Regions from separate parts of the Homo sapiens genome. Here region 1 is linked to region 2. The links are contacts of gene promoters, found by promoter capture Hi-C in blood cells and fetal thymus (Javierre and others, 2016). All regions are on one chromosome and are shown on one strand. The core of a region is centred on a gene start or on the middle of the fragment in contact, and the rest is flanking DNA. Distances in the headings are between cores, read along the strand shown. Region 1 has its middle 72 kb from the start of IGLL5. Region 2 holds the start of GNAZ (G protein subunit alpha z).

Region 1 (5,098 bases), core at 1,371-3,870, 110 kb after region 2:
GGGATTACTGGCATGAGCCACTGTACCTGGCCACTTGCATTGTTTTTCTGAGAAATCTGCTGTCATCCTTTTCTTTGTTCTTCTGCATATAATGTATTTTTTTTCTTCTGGCCACTTAAAATTTTCTCTTAGATGAGTTGGTTTAAGAAATTTGATGATCATAGTGTGACTTGGTATGGTTTTCTTCATGTTTTTGTGATTACGGTTGGTTGAACTTTTTTAATCCGTAGGTATACAGTTTTCATCACATTAAGAAAATTTTCTGTCATTATTTTTTCAAATCCCCTCTTCTTTTTCAGAGACTTTAACCACATATATATTTTACCACTGGCATTTATCTCACAGGTCACTGATGTTCTCTTTATTTTTTTAGTCCTTTAACCCTCTGATAATTTTGTATAATTTCTACTGCTCTGCCTTCAAGTTCACTAATCTTTTCTTCTGCAGTTTCTAATCTGTCATTAATTCCATCTAGTGTATTTTTCATCACATTGTTTTCTATAAGTTTAATTTGGTTTTAGAAAAAACCTTCTGTGCATTCGCCAAAAATGTTTAATCCTTCCTCTAGTTCCTTATACATATGGAATAGTATTATAATAACTGCTTTAATGACCTTATCTATTTATTACCTATGTCAATTTTGGATCAGCTTTGACTGGCTGATATTTTCCTAACTATGGATCATATTCTTCCACTTCTTTGCCTGCATGTTAATTTGTAGTTGAATGCTAGACATTGTGCATTTTATCTTTGCAGGTGCTAGATATTTTTGTATTCTTAAGTTGTGTTCTGGTACACAGTTAAATTATTTTGAAACAGTTTAATCTATCCCCAGCTTTCTTTTAACATTTTTACATGAGACCACAACAGCATTAAGTCTATGGTTAATTTTGTCCACAGATCAGGAAGACTCCTCTGAGTACTCTACCTGATGCTTAATGAATTATGAGATTTTCTGTACTTGTTGATGAGGTCAGGCATTATTTTCAGCCCTGAATTTTCTCTGGGGATTGTTCTGTTCAATGCTTTTGGGTAGTCTTTTTCTTGGCCTCAGGTACATTCCTCATATGCATACACTGATCACTACTCAGTATAATACTTACACTCTCGTATTTGCAGAGTTCTCTTTCTGTTAAGCTCCCTCCTCTTTGGTACTCTGCCCTATGAACTCCAGCGGCCTGGGATCCCAAGCAGCTCTGTTTCTTCAACTCGGGGAGGCCAGTGGGCTGTGGTTACGTTCTCTCCTCCTTGAGCCTCAGACTGGAAACTCTCCATGCAGTAATCTGGGGCAATCGTGGGGCTCATCTTATTCATTTCTCATCTCTTATAAACCACTATCTTTCATTGCCTGATGTCCAGTGACTTAAATATTTTGTGTTGTTTTTAAAATTATTCCAGGCCTAAAAATAAATCCAGCTCCTGTTACTCCATGTTGACCAGAATGTATAATTGTTATTGCTGTTTTTTTTCTTTAAAAAACACCTTTATTGAGATGACTTATCCAATTAAACTGAGGCTCATTTGCAGGGATAGTTTTTGAGGTCAGTGTTTGAGGTTTGCTTTGACCCCAAGAGGTCTGTTTTTAGCCATGTCTTTTCCTGGTTCTCTCTGATAAACTAGCTGGCCTATGGTCTAGTTTATGTCACTAATGAACTTACCAGTTTCCTCTCAATTGCTTTTTGCCCAAGCTTCATTGTTTTGAAAGTCCCCTTAATGTTGAACTTTGTACTCATTTGCAAATAAAGTCAGTTCATTCGGGAAGGGCTTTAGAGCTCTCTATGTCCTGCCTTTCCTCTTGGGGAAATGTTTCAGGAGCTTTTGGCTATGGCTCTGGGGCTGGGTGGGGACAGTGGTAGGTAGCTACTTTCTGAGTGACACCCCTGCTTTAGGAGGTGGGTGCTTATTGGAGAGTCTATTGTATTCCCAGCTTGCTTCTCATAGCATGGAACCTCTACTTTACAAATGAGCTGGTTGATGGTGCCAGTATTCTCAGTGTGTTGCACCCAAGGCAGGGCTTTTGTCCCACAAGTAGGGGCTGAGCAAAAGAAGAGAGCCTCAACCGATTACTACAATCACCTGGAATTTAGTCTCTGCAACAGGTAGCTGGGGTGGGAAGAAAAATGCTGATGGATTTTCCTTCTTGGGAAAATACCATAGCCCTTGACTGGGAGCTGGGTGGAGACAGTGCTGTGTCCTTGGCTGTACCCACCTGGAGTGGAGTTTCTGTCACATTTTGCTGGCAGTGGGAGGAATGGAGCAGGTCGTGGTTGAAATGCCACAGACCCTCCCATTTCTTGCCAGGTTTTAATAGATGTTCTTGAATTAAATGTTTTTTTATTTGCTGTATGCCCTAAGGCCATTTCTAGAGACTTTAAATAAATACATATATCTTAAATATTTTATACACACACACAATTGCCCATTCTGGAAGTGGAAGTCCCCCGTCTCCACCCCCAGGAGGTTTTCAACACTCTAGATGTGGATGCCCAGCTGACCGCTCACTCTGCCTCCCACTGCAGGAAGACTCAAGGATAGATGCCCCAGTGAGTCAACCTCCTAGCTTCTTTTCAAATTCAAACAATCTTTTCTCTAGCCACACCTTGGTTCATAGGCTAAAACCCTTGTTACTTGGATTTGACCTTTTTGAGAATTTTTGGAGCGTGCACAGTCTTGTTGAACCCTAATGCAACCAAGTAGTTGTGTAGTTCTCTTCTAGGGTCAGATTCACTCTCATCAGATAATGTGTGGACCCGGGAAACAAATTATCTGTACATGCTGGCCGTCTCCCTGCATTTCCGCCACCTGGTGGGCAATTTTCACATGGACTGCCTTGAATCTGGATTATATTTGGTGGTCTCTGGCACCCTCCGGTGATGAGATATTTTAGCCCTGTGTTTTGTGGTAGTTTGACCGTATTTCATTTGTGATGAAGTGATTTTTGACCTGTATAACTGCTTTACAAGGAAACACACTTGGAGCTTGTTCACTGAGGGGCTGGAATAGTCAATCTGCATCCATGTCCACAGGCTGTTGGCTGGCATTTCTTCGGTGATGAGTCTGGTTTAGCCTCATTGTGAGAACATGCAAGGTGTGTGCATCCCTGGGTCTCTAGTTTAGTGTTCCTTCCAGGTCTTGGGCACCTATCCCAGCAGATCTTGGTGGCAATCATGAAGGATATCCTGGGGACATCACAACATAGTCCTCTCCCAGTTTTGCTGGCCAGCAGTGAAAAGACCGAGAGGCTGCTTTCGGGTCTTGTTTTTACAACTAGACCTTCGAAAGACATAAAGCATCTGTGTCCCTGCTTTGTAAGGTTCCAATCACCCCAGATCTTTTTCTTCATCCCCATGAGCAGTGGGGGGTCACGTTAACAATTTGGATCCAGTTATTCTCAGCAGCTAATGTCCTTCCAGCAGAGAGGGCGGACGCTGGGACTGTCCCATCATCGATGTTCCTCCAGCTCAGCCATCTTCTGGCTGCTGGACCAGATTGTCTGACTTTATTACCCAAGGGCTGAAAGGCTTATTGTCCCTGTGGCCACTTGGAAGCTTATGATCTTTGACTCCTGAGCTGTATTCTGTCATCCATTTAGCATAATATAGCGATCAGTCCAAGGACTCCAGTTCCTTATTTTACTTGTGAAGGATCATTTAGAAAAAAAATTCAACCTCCTTAGCAGTAGTTTGTCCTGGAATGTTGGTTTTATTAATAATTACTGTGGGTTACACCTCCCCTGCCTTCTCACCTTCTTTGAGGTTTCCCACATGAAAACCCCTGACACTGACTGAGGGATGGTCAGATTTTTAAAAATGTGACATTGGGGTTTTGAGGACCAGCATTCACGTCCATCCTGTATGAGGCCATCCTTGAAGTCAGAAGTTTTCCACTCTGAACCATCATTAGAGGAGTCATCGCTATGGTGACATGATGGTTTTCTCTCTTTCCATGAACTTGGAGATGGGGAATTATTTGAAAAGATAGAGAGCTGAGTGTCCAACCTCACTCTGGTCATATGACGTCTCTAGGGGAGCAAAGGCTAAAGGAAATTGGTTTCCTCCTTGCTGTGCAATGCACTAGCTTTTGGACACATGGCTGTCCTGTCACTTTTTACTGGAGCTAGGCCCGAGGCATTTGCAGGAGTGTAATTTATTTGGCCCCAAGCTGTGACACGTTCTGGGTCCACCGGAAATTCTTGATTTCTTTTATACTCTGCTGGGCGGGCTTCTCTAGGGTACTTATTCTAGGAATAAATCTCACGAATCTTTGTGGGCTTTGAAGTCCACATTGCTCCTTGGAGAGGAGAGAGCATCTGCATCCATTCTTTGCTCACCCACCACCCCCGAAGTGGCCATTCCAAAGAAAGCTGCCTGTGTTCTCACTGGCTGATATCTATCCCCATTTTAACCTGATTTAGATGGGGCTGACCAGCATTTATGGTTTGGTCACAACGCTTGCCTTCTGCAGTTCCCTGTGGCAGCTGACTGTTTGCATTCTGCAAGATGAATGCCTGAAGGCTTCATTTGACTTCATTTGATTGAAGGTCTATCATAGTAGCAGTTCGGAGATGACCTTCATTTCCATGCCATCTTTTGATGCTGAGATATTGTGTCAACCAGGGTAGACTCAGGAGGCAAACCACACCAGTAATTTGAACAGGGATTTTTTCAGAGTTGTTAAACTATAAAGAGTGGTGAGCTCATGAAAAGGATAAAGCAGGACTGTACAACGTTCATGAGTAGCAGATTCAGAAAGCAGCTACCGACTCACGCGGAGTGAGTGAAGGAACTAAGAGCTTGAGAATGGGACCCCAGGCAAGGCTGAGATTCAGACTTTTCCAGGAGAGCATGGTTTTGCTGTGAGCTGTAGCCTGCCAGAGGCCAAGACGCTTGCCAGAGAGTGTGAGCAGAAGCTGGTCCATGGAAGGGCCTATCATTGCCCAGGGGTATGTGGGTGGGCTGGTGCAGGTCTGGAGGATCAGCCCCAGGGTGGAAAGGTGATTGCCTGAGGATGCAGTAGGAGCTTGTCTGTAGAAGCAGCAGCCAGGGACTTTATATTTGCACAGATAATCTTTTCACACATTGCCCTTTTAGGGATATGG
Region 2 (5,911 bases), core at 3,039-5,538:
CTGCTTGACACAGGGGACCTGCTCTCTGGGACCCGCTCTTCTCCAGCCTCCCGAGGCGCCACTGTGACTGTGCTTCCACCTCACTTGCCCGTCAATCCTCAATCTCTCTTTCTCGATGCTTCTCAACTCATCCTCCCCACAGTGGAGGCCCAGGAGCCCAGCTCAGCCTCTTCTGATCCTACCTACCCTTGATCCCTAAGTGACCTCACGTGGTCCCCGGCCTGCCACACACCTCAGTGCCAGGGGCTCCAGGTTGCCACCTCCAGCCTTGCTCTCCCTCTGGCCACATGTGCCCATCAATGGCTCTCCAGGTCTCAGACCCACCTCCTAATTCCCCACCTCTCCAGAATGGGTTTTTCTGTATCTTGCTTCTCAGCCAATACCAGCTCCATCTTTCTACTGGTTCAGACCAAAACTGCAGCTGTCCTTTAAAAGCTGCAGCTTTAAAAAAACAAATCTCCCACCTGCATTTCTCAGGGCCTCCAGAGCTCCCACCCCTGGGTCAGCAGCCTCTCTGCCTGGGATGTTGCAGTAGCCCCTCATGGCCCCCAGCCTTACCCCACCCTAGCCTATTTTCCCACCTCAGCAGAGAGATCTTTTCAAAGTGTAGATTAGCTCCTCCTGGGAGGGCAGCTCCAGTCTCTTCTCTGCTCCAACCCTGCCAAGGTCTTCCTGCCTCATTGGGGCCCACTGAGTCCTGCAGGACCTGGCCCTGACACCCCACCCACACTCCTGCACCAGGTTCCAGCCACTCTGGTGGGGCCTCCAGGGGCCAGGGAGTGTCTGCTCAGCGCCTTTGCACCTGCTGTCTCTCCCCTGCTCAGCCACACCACTCACCCAGCACTTCTGCATGGCACTGTGTCAGTCCCCCACCCCCATCTCGTGTCCCCCACCTTCTGCTTTAGTGTTCTCCACAGTGCAGCACTTAGTAACATGTGTTACTGTCAACCCCTGCCCGTCTGGTGTGAGCACTGTGAGTGGATGCTACGTCCCTGCTGTACCCCTGCACCTGGCACAGTGCCTGGCATGCAGCAGGCGCTGGTAAATGTTAGCTGAACAAATGAATGGATGAATCGCGTGAGGTTCTGCTCCTCCGGCTCAGTCCAGAGGGCTGATGTCTCCTCCTATGTGCTCTAGGATCTGTCAAGCGGTCCCTGTTGGTTCAATCCTGTGAAGCGCCTCCCCTGGCGGTGTTCGCACGAAAGGGCCAAAATGTGTGGCAGGGGCTGGTGTGGGGACAGGGCAGGGCACTCTTGGCTTTGGGTATGGATGAGGATAATGAGGTTCAGAGAAAAAGGGGCTGGACCTAGGATGGTGGGACCAGGACCTGACTCCAGGTCTTCTGCCACCTAGACTGGAATGCTCACCTCACCACCCCGGAGCCACAACAGTCTGGGTGCTCCCACGTCCCTCTTCATTCTGCCCAGGCCGCAGCATAGCCTCTGCTCTGGGATTCTGCCTGGGGCTGACCCTTGGCATCTGCACTGACGCCTCTGTTCATTTCGCTTTGTGCTCCTTCCAGCCAAGCACAGTGCTCACAGGTGCTCAGAGGCTTGGCTACCCCAGGTTTCCTTGCTGGAGGGTTCGGGAGAGCAGCATGCTGACCTGCCTCCTCCAGTGTGCCCGTGCACCTGCCATGGTCAGCAGCAGTGAGAGTGCCTTTGCCACCACACACCGTCTTAAGTATTCTGAGGCTAGCGTGGGACAGACAGCACAGGGCTGCCTTCCTTGCCTCCAGGGGAGGAAGCCGCACACATGTGTTCACACACAAGATGACTAAATTCAGCATTCCTGAATTGCTATATTCAGCATTCCTGTCCCACTGGCCTCTCTGCGGGGGCCCTGGGCAGCCCTTGTGAAGTCAATCCAGTTACCTGCAAATTCCTGGAATTGTTCTAGAAGCTCCTGAGGGCCAGACTGAGACCCCACCCATACTCCTGCACCAGGTTCTGGCCACTCTGGTGGGGCCTCCAGGTCTCTGAGGTTCCTCCTGAGATTCTAGAAAACAAAAGGACTGAGAGGCTGGGGACAGAGGGAAGAATCCATTCCCTGTGTCCCAAACCCACAGTCACATGCCAGGTCCCTGCAACAGTCCAGGCGACAGGCACAGAGCACAGCAGCTCACCCTGCTCAGCACAGACTGCACACCCCACGAGGGCAGGCCCTGTTCTCGCTGCATCAACCTGGGCCTTGGCCAAAGCCAAGTGTGTGTTGGGTGGGGAGGGTAGGCACACTACAAAGATGAGTAACAAACAGCCCCTTCAGAGGGAGAGCAAAAACATCCCCAGAAATGAGGGAGCTGACTTAGGGGGGAAAGTGACACCAATTTCCGAGGGGGAGAAATTATGTCTTATTCACCTCCTGTCTCAGAAAATCAACGTCAGTTAGAGGAACACACAGGAAGACTTTTAAACCAGATGCCAGCATCTCCTCATTCCTAGAGAATGAGGCTTGCTCAAGGCGCATATTTTATCCAAGCACCGCCAGGCCATCCACACCCCCACTGCACCCCGTAGATGGATGCTCCCAGGCTGCCACGATTACTGCTCTCAAACATCCACATCCCAGAGGCACAGAGTCACTAGCTAAGCATCATCCCCGAAACAGGCAACTCAATCCTAACAAGGGGGTTGCCTGGGTGGTTACCCAGTGCCCTGGCTGTGCCCGAGGGAGAAGTGCCTGGAAGCACAGTCTCAGACTGCAAGGAGCCTTCCCCAGTCTTTAAAGCTAGCTCTTCTCCAGGCCCACCCCAGCTCATGGGGTCATGGAACTGCTTCGCTTTTACAGATGAGGAAGCCGTGGTCTCCACCATAGCCACAGTTAACCAGCAGTGGGGTCATTCCACTTCCCAGCTCCCTCAGCCCCGTGCAGCCCCCACCGGCCTTTCCCGCCATACCTCCTCCTACTCCCCAGGCATGCTAAGTGCTCCCATCAGACCTAACTGCCCAAGTGCCTCGGTCTATTCTCTCCTCTCTGCCCACAATGCCCAGCTTAGCTGTGCCCATGTCCTTCAAGCTCCAGTTCAAATGTCATGTTGCCCACGAGCTCACCTGACCCCCCAGCCCAGGACACCACTCTGAGGTCCCTCCCGAGGCCCCTGCACCTGCACTCAAGCGGGGTTGGTCGAGTAGAGACGTTTTCCCCTATGCGGTGGTCAATCAGTCCTGGGAGGGCAGGCCCAGTCCACTCCCACCCGGTGCACCCCAGCGTCAAGCTCTGGGGGAGTGACCACTCAATAAATATTTGCTTAATTGAATTTGGCCAAGGAGCCTTCTCCAGAGAGCTCAATCCCCAGGGCAGGGAAATCACTTGGGCAGAAAGGAGCCGGTCAGGGGCTCAGCTGTCTCCCCAAGCAAGACAGACCTCTCTACCAGGCGGGTCCCTCCACCCCAACACGGACTACGCGGAACGCTGGTCTCGCTTGGCATCATCCTCTTGTCTCAGTTAACAGGAGCCCCCATTCTCGGCCTAGGCCGAATCCTGCCATCATCACCCAGGAAGGCTCAGCACCGCCCTAAAGGCAGAGCCCCCTCGGATCGCCCGCAGGATACGGAGCGCCAGCCCTGAGGCCCTCACTCCCCTCCCCCAAACACCCCCACCGCCTTTTAAGGGAAAAAATATTGAGCCGGGAACGTATTACAATCGCAGCAGGTCGATACTCATCTCTTCCTCTAAATGCCTGTGAGGAACCTGCTCGCTGCAAGAGCAGTGACCGAGAACTGCTAGCTGTCCGTCTGCGGGCCCAGGTCCTCGGGCCCAGGCCTCTGGGGCCCTCTCCTCGGTTTCAGGCAAGGCCCTGCATCGGCTCCGGCCGCCCCTCCCTGATCCTCCCCCTAGGGAGACCCGCCTCAGCGCCGCTCCCGCAGCTCGCCTGGCCCGCCCGGGCTCCGCATCAGCCGCTGCTTGGGGGCGCCCGGCGGCCCCGCGCGGCATCCCCGGCGCCCTCTGTCCACCCTCCCGGGTCCTCAACCGCCCCCTCCCGCGGGGTCATCGGCTTGGCGGCGCATCCCTCCCCCAGCACCTGCCCGACCAGAGGCCGCCCCCTGCCCACCTCGCAGGCGTCCCCGCCCTTGGTGTCCCCCACCCCTGAGGGGCATCCCTGACGCTGCGTCCTGGCGGATCCGGGGCACAAAGGCCTGGGAAGAGTCCCAAGTGGGGGCAAGGTGGATGCCCCGGCCGTGCCCCCGACCCCTGAGGCTCAGCGGCGCGCGGCCGGCCGCGGGTCGGCTCACTCACCTCCGGGCCGCAGCACAGAGCATCTGCCGAGCTGCTCCGGGCAGGGCGGGGCGGGGCGGGGCGGCGAGCACGGGGCCGCGGCGCCCTCGTTCCGTACGACGCGGGCAGCGGCGCCCACGCGGGGACGTGACCGGACCGCGGGCGGCGCACACGCTCCGGCCGGCCTGGTTCCCTCCGCCCGCCCTCCCGCGCCGCCCGCCGCCCGCCGCCCGCCGCCAGTCCGCGGGTCCGCCCGCCCCGCGCCGCGCCGCCGCCGGCAGGGGGCGGAGCCGCGAGCGCAGCCCGTTGCCAGGCCAACCGCGGGCGGGGGGGTGCCGCGCGCCCGCCGGGCACCACGCGCCGGGCACCTCCGCCCCGCCACGAGCGCCGGCCCTCTGTCCATTGGGCACAGGCAGCTGACGGACGGGCCAGTAGCCCAATGGGGACGGACAGGGGCGGGGTCGCAGCTCCGCGCGCGCCGCAGTCCCGCAAGAGCTCCCCGCGCCGGCGTTCCACCGACTCCGCTGCGCTGAGGCCTGGTAGCCGAGCCCCAGGGGCCACCTCTGGCAGCCCGGGAAACCAAGCCTGAGCCCAGCCATGGTCCTGGCCCTCTTTACTGCAGCCAGTCCCGGCTCGCCTTCTCTCCACTCGGGTTCAAACCCAGTTCGGCCTCTTGTGAGCTCTACGTCCTTGGGCAACCGACTGACCTCTCTCAGCCTTTCTGTTTGCAAAGTGGGGCTAGTGGCACCTGCTTTCCTGGATTGTCTCACCAATCCTTCAGAACGTGTGAAAGGCCTATGCAAACCCTAACGATTTACACCGGTGAGGTTTGTGCAGCGATGGGAGGGAGCATTAGTCATCTCTGCCGCCGCCCCCCGCCGCCACCGCCCAGTGTCTAGGGGCTCTTTGGCGTCCCTGGCAATCCTGGCACACGGAAGGGTGGCCTTGGGAGGGAAGGAAGGGAGAAGGACCGAGGAGCTGGCCCCCAGCCCAGACAAGCGTGAGAGAGCCAGTTCAGTTAAGGCCACTGATTGGCGCTTTTGGGAAGCTGGTGGAAAGCATCAGACCCTCAGCAAAACGCAGCTGAACCCAGGCTGCAAAATTCTGTTTTCAATTTCAAAGCCTATCTGTGGACCTCAGGGCCAGGAGTCCCTCAGTTCCATGCTTAAAAGACTCTCAAGCCAGAGGGCCAAGACATGAATGCTCCTGTCTCTCTTCTCCATCTTTGTAAATCTGAAGCTTTGTGTATCCTAGAGCATCCCTGACAAAGTGCAAATGCCTTCCCAGCTAACGCGTTCCTTATCACCTCACACCTTTGTAAGGTGTGGATCATGCCATTCTTTGAGCAGCAGCCCTGGACCTGACCATGGCAGAGGTCCATGGAGCGGTCTCTCCATCATAGCTCTGTGGTGGAGGGGCAGGGGCATGTGCCTGGCTTTGCCAGCTGGACACTGTGGCATCTCAGCATCATCCCATAACCTCCCTAGGAATGTTTCCTCTTCTGTGAGATGGAGACCATTGCGTTACGTACCTGCAGGGTCATGGGCCACCTGTGAGGGTGCTGCCTCAACTGTCAGGAACAGGACGTATATTTGTTATGGGCATCATGGAGGCGAACTTAGTGCTCACTGGAGGTGTCCAGTGAGGACCAAGGGAATTCAGCCAATGGCTGAGGGGCTAGCTACCCTTTGTGCTT

Evidence for each region. Contacts are between HindIII fragments. The CHiCAGO score rates a contact against its expected background, and 5 or more counts as called.
Region 1: a fragment that was not itself captured here is called in contact with the fragment with the promoter of GNAZ in region 2 in 1 of 17 cell types (megakaryocytes); the score reaches 12.4 in megakaryocytes.

Annotation. Positions count from the first base shown.
Region 1 is chr22:22,957,110-22,962,207 of GRCh38, reverse strand. No RefSeq gene overlaps it. Among named protein-coding and RNA genes, the nearest start is that of IGLL5, 72 kb to the right of the region's middle. The HindIII fragment of the contact is 1,860 bases long and covers 1,691-3,550 here.
Region 2 is chr22:23,068,896-23,074,806 of GRCh38, reverse strand. GNAZ (G protein subunit alpha z) reads right to left here and starts at 4,288. Exons shown (of 3, transcript NM_002073.4): 1 at 4,237-4,288. The region is part of intron 4 of RSPH14 (radial spoke head 14 homolog); the gene reads left to right. RefSeq lists enhancers at 1,825-2,706, 2,707-3,587 and silencers at 4,194-4,333, 4,474-4,613. The HindIII fragment of the contact is 14,108 bases long and covers 1-5,456 here.